2 separate regions of the Homo sapiens genome follow, and region 2 is linked to region 1. The links are contacts of gene promoters, found by promoter capture Hi-C in blood cells and fetal thymus (Javierre and others, 2016). All regions are on one chromosome and are shown on one strand. Each heading gives the region's core, a stretch centred on a gene start or on the middle of the fragment in contact. The rest is flanking DNA. Distances are from core to core; before and after follow the strand shown. Region 1 holds the start of CPNE5 (copine 5). Region 2 has its middle 6.5 kb from the start of SRSF3.

Region 1 (2,700 bases), core at 94-2,593:
TCGCTCGCCAGGCACACAGCACGCGCCTACTCGGTGCTGGCTGCATAGAAGCCCAGGGAGCTCGGGCCGATCTCCCAGTCTGGTTGCCACCAGACTGGGTGGCAGGAGCTTCTAGACCTGGAGGCTGGCTCAGTCGTGTGGTCACGACGGGCGGGGGAGTGGAAGGGCGCTGGCGCGTGGTTTCGGCAGCCGACTTGGCGAGGCCGCGGCTGGCGGGAACCACGGATGGGGGAGGCGCCCATGCACCGACCCCACCTGGGCCACTGGGAAACCGAGGTAGTCCCTCCTGGCACTGGGGTCGCCCCCACACACCTCCCCAGAAGGAGATGTAGGGTCTGTTTCTGAACTGAGACCCGCCCCCGAGTAGGGCGCACACTCAGCAGAGACCCTCCACACCCAAGCCCCTGGGAGGGGATCTTTTTTGCACACCTCCCTCCCACTTATGCCCCCTCTCAACCCTGCATAGACCTTTCTCAAAAAGGCGCCCGTTGGTTCCCATAACCCTCCCCCTCCCCCAGGATGGAGACCCCTGATGGGAGATAGGGGTGGTGAGAGGGGGCGGGCGCAAATGAAGATGCGCGCGACCAGGACCACCTCTTGCTGTCACCCGCCACGTCCCCAGCATCTGGACCGCGTCCCCCGGCCCGCCACGCGCGCACACACACACACACGCGCACACACACACGCTCACACTCACCCTGCGCGCAGACCCCGCCCGCGGCCCCGCCCCGGCCCCTGCGGGCGCCCCCTCTGGCGTTCCCGGGCGGCGGGAGGCTGCGGCTTCGGGCAGATTTGATTTTCCCGCAGCCCGGGCGCCCCGGAGCCGAAGCCCGAGCCGAGGAGGTGGCGCTCGCAGCCGCGTCTCAGCCCCGTCGCCGCCGGCGCCAAGACCCAGGGAGAGGCGGCGCAGCCCGGGCGCTCGGGCTCCGCGCTGCCGGCGCCCCGCCACCCCCGCCGCCAGCGCCCCATCCGGCGCCTCCCGCTCCTCACGCCCCTCTCCCTGTCTTCTGCATCCCCTCTACCTCTGCCCACAGACGCGCGTCCCTCTCCTGGTGCCCCTCTCCACGACTCCGCGTTTCCCTCCCGGTGCCCTCTCCCCGAGCCCCTCTCCCCGCGCCCCTCTCTGCCTTCCCCGCTGTGCCCCCGCTCCCTGGGCTCCTTGCCCTTCCCCACTGGGCCCCTAGCCTCCTCGCGGCGTCACCCGAGCCCCCTCCTCGATCCGCGGCCCCCGCTCCCTCCGCCCTCTTCCCTCTCTCACTTCCCACGCCCCCTCTTCGCGCTCCTCTCTCCTCCCCTTGCCGCCCAGCCCAGGCTCTGGAGTTGGGGGAGAGCCCAGGGCTCCAGTCGCTCCGGAGGAGGCGTGAATCGCGCAGGGATTGACTAATTTGGGGTGGGGGGTGCGGTGGGCGATGGAGCAGCCTGAGGACATGGCGTCGCTGAGCGAGTTCGACTCCTTGGCGGGCAGCATCCCGGCCACCAAGGTGGAGATCACCGTGTCCTGCAGGTGAGCCTCCCGCTGGCCGGGTCCCCTTGCCCCGGCCCTGGACGCAGAGCCCCGCGGCCCCTGCCGCTTCGATCCTAAACCTCCGCGCGCCCCCTTCCCAGAGTGTCCTGGTCTCCAGGACTGCGCCCCTGCCGATCTGCCAAGAGCCCCTGTCCTGTCCAGCTGCGGGTGGCGACGGCAGAATAGGAAGCCAGGCTGGGGTCATATCCCAGAAAGTTTGCGCTCCAGGCTGTTGCATCGAGGAGATATGAAGACACAGGAACAGGGGGTCCAGGCACCCAAGTGGGGAGAGGGAGTTGGTAAAAGGCTGTACTACGGTCTCTGCTCAGGCTATCTCTGATCACCCCATCCCCAAATCACGAAGTGAGTGATTTGCCCCCATCCCTCCCAGGCTCGTCCACCCTCTCCCTTCTGTGCCCTCCTCTCTTCTCTCTTTGCCCCTTCTTTGCCCCAGCATCCTGATCCTCCCCTCACCAGTCTCCCCCACCCCACTGTCCTAGACTCTAGGATTTTAAAGCCTTCCTTCATCTCTATCAACAACGAAATCGACTCCTGGAAAAGGATCAGATTGACTCATTCATACTAAGGTGTGGATACATGATAACAACTTAAAGTGGCACCATTAAAAAAATAACTTGGGTCAAAAATCTTAAGCCAAAGGAATAGAACACTGATTGTGAAACTGTAGAGTCCAACAGAGGAGGAGGGGGAATATTTTTGTGGGCTACCACGCCCAAATCTTCACTCATGTCACACAGGGTTTGGGGGTAACTTCTCTGTCTAAGAGCTGGGTCGACCCCAGGTTCTCCTAGCTAGGGGAAGGCTGCCCCTGGCAGTAAGAGGGTATGGGTGGCAAAGGGGGATTTTTCCCTAGTTCAGTCTCTCTGTGGCTGGCCTAGGATCATGTGCTGCCACGCAAGCATCACCCACTTTGAGGTTCCCCCACAGAGGCCATGCCCCCTGCCCCAGATCACCGACAGCATTTCTGGAGCCCTGGCTGTGCCCTTGTTCGAAATCACCCATCTCATCCTCTTCCAGGTTGCTCCTTGGTCAGACCCTCCATGAGAGGTAACCTTGTTGCCCCCCAGTCCTGTATTACAAAGTTGTGGCATTGATGAGGTGTAGGTAGAGCTGGAGAGTCTGGGCAGGGGCGTGAAGGAGGGAAGGACTCAGTGTGACTTTCTCTTGAAGACTTG
Region 2 (2,700 bases), core at 1-2,500, 250 kb after region 1:
CAACGCCCAACAAATTTTTTTATTTTTAGTAGAGACAGGGTTTCGCCATGATGGCCAGGCTGGTCTGGAATTCCTGACCTCAAGTGATCCGCCCGCCTCGGACTCCCAAAGTACTGGGATTACAGGTGTGACCCACTGCACCTGGCCACGTATATATATTTTTTAACTTAAAATTTAAAAAATGTTTAATTTAAAATTAAAAACAAAAAATGCTGGGCACAATGGTTCATGCCTGTAATCCCAGCACTTTGAAAGGCTGAGGCGAGAGGACCACTTCAGGCCAGGAGTTTGAGACTGGCCTGGACAACATAGCAAGACCCCCCCGCCCCGTACAAAAAAATACAAAAATTAGCTGGGCATGGTGTTGTGCGCCTATAGTCCCAGCTACTTAGGGGGCTGAGTTGGGAGGATCACTTGAGCCTGTGAGGCAGAGGTTGCAGTGAGCTGAGATTGCACCACTTCACTCCAGCCTGGGGCACATAGTGAGACTCTGCTCAGAAAAAAAAAATTTTCAAAAAAGAAAGAAATTACTGATGGCCAGGTGCTAAGAGTTTTGTATAAGGTTTAATGTTTTTGTTGTTGTTGTTTTGTTTGTTTGTTTGAGACAGATTCTTGCTGTGTCACCAGGCTGGAGTTCAGTGGCATGATCTTGGCTCATTCCAACCTCCACCTCCCAGTTTCAAGTGATTCTCCTGCCTCAGCCTCCTGAGTAACTGGGACGACAGGCATGCGCCACCAAGCCCAGCTAATTTTTGTATTTTTAGTAGAGACAGGGTTTCACCATGTTGGCTAGGATAGTCTCAATCTCTTGATCTCGTGATCTACCCGCCTCAGCCTCCCAAAGTGCTGCGATTACAGGCGTGAGCCACTGCACCCAGCCTGGTTTAATGTTTTATGTTTTGGGGGGCCAAGATGGGAGAATCGCTTAAGGCCAGGTGTTCTGAAACCAGCAGTTTTACTATTGTCTCTACAAAAATTTAAAAAAACAAATTAGCAAAGTGGTGCTGCATGCCTGTAGTTCTAGCTACTCAGGAGGCTGAGACGGCAAGGATCTCTTGAGTACAGGAGTTCGAGGCTGCAGTGGGCTATGATTATTTCACTGCACTCCAACTTGGGCAACATAGCAAGACCTTGTCTCTAAGAAGAAAAAAAAATTTTTTTTGGCTATAATCCAAGCACTGTGGGAGGCTGAGGCAGGCAGATCATCTGAGGTCAGGAGTTTGAGACCAGCCTGGCCAACATGACGAAACCCTGTCTCTACTAAAAATACCAAAATTAGCCAGGCATAATGGTGCGCGCCTGTAATTCCAGCTACTTGGGAGGCTGAGGCAGCAGAATCCCTTGAACCCAGGAGGCAGAGGTTGCAGTGAGCCAAGATACCACTGCACTCCAGTCTGGGCAACAGAGTGAGACTCCGTTTCAAAACAAATAGATAAATAAATAAATAATAAAATATTTAATGTTTTAAATATTGTGATTGACTTCAAGTATCCGTGAAGGAAAATCTTAAACAGTATGAACCTTCACAGGCTGGGCGTGGTGGCTCATGCCTGTAATCCCAGCACTTTGGGAGGCCGAGGCAGGTGGATCACCTGAGGTCAGGAGTTTGAGACCAGCCTGGCCAACATGGTGAAACTCCATCTCCACTAAAAAATACAAAAATTGGCTGGGCGCGATGGCTCACGCCTGTAATCCCAGTACTTTGGGAGGCCGAGGTGGGAGGATCACAAGGTCAGAAGATCGAGACCATCCTGGCTAACACAGTGAAACCCCGTCTCTACTCAAAATACAAAAAATTAGCTGGGCATGGTGGCACTCACCTGTAGTCTCGGCTACTAGGGAGGCTGAGGCAGGAGAATCGGTTGAACCCAGGAGGCAGAGGTTCAGTCAGCCGAGATCACACCACTGCACTCCAGCCTGGGCAACAGAACGAGACTCCGTCTCAAAAAAGAAAAACCCAAAAATTAGCCAGGCATGGTGGCTCACACCTGTAATCACAGCTACTCTGGAGGCTGAGGCAGGAGAATCTCTTGAACCCGGGAGGCAGAGGTTGCAGTGAGCCAAGGTTGTGCCACTGCACTCCAGCCTGGGCCACAGAGTGAGACTCCGTCTCAAAAAAAAAGTAAAAATTTTTTAAAAAAGAGCATGAACCATCACAATAGTTCATTAACTACATGGTTCAGTCAAGATCCTGGCAGAAACCAGATGGCACACTTAAAGAGTTAACCACATAGGGAATTATGTACAGGGGTGTGGGCAGAGTTAAGGAAACCCATAGTGGGTAAGGGCAATCCCAAAGGCAGCTCGTAGGCCCAATGGGGCAAGGAAGGGAGCAGGGTTACCAAAAACAGCCAGCTGCTGTTGCTGTGGGAGATGAGCTATTATAGCTTTAGATAGAGGAACTGTGGCAGCCCAGTTTTGGGGGTGTGGGGCTAGAACCACTCTCTCCATTGTCCCATCTTTTAATGGTGACATCTTTTGCTCAAAACCAACTGGAAGCCTGAGGGCAAGAGAGCTGGGTGATACAAGTCTAGAGGTTGGTTGGCCAGGGCACAGAGCAGGGCTGAGAAGGCTAGAGAACTGATCTAGGGTTGTGCTGTCCAATATGGTAGCCACAGGTACCTGTGGCAAGTTTAGTCCTAATTGAGATGTGCTGTAAATGAAAAATACATGCTGGATTTTAAAGACTTTGTATGAAAA

The links. Contacts are between HindIII fragments. The CHiCAGO score rates a contact against its expected background, and 5 or more counts as called.
Region 2: a fragment that was not itself captured here is called in contact with the fragment with the promoter of CPNE5 in region 1 in 11 of 17 cell types (monocytes, M0 macrophages, naive B cells and 8 more); the score reaches 15.4 in monocytes.

What each region holds. Positions count from the first base shown.
Region 1 is chr6:36,838,087-36,840,786 of GRCh38, reverse strand. CPNE5 (copine 5) reads left to right here and starts at 1,343. Exons shown (of 21, transcript NM_020939.2): 1 at 1,343-1,504. The coding sequence starts at 1,410. RefSeq lists a silencer at 670-879. The HindIII fragment of the contact is 11,867 bases long and covers 1-2,700 here.
Region 2 is chr6:36,586,482-36,589,181 of GRCh38, reverse strand. No RefSeq gene overlaps it. Among named protein-coding and RNA genes, the nearest start is that of SRSF3, 6.5 kb to the left of the region's middle. The HindIII fragment of the contact is 5,571 bases long and covers 1-2,700 here.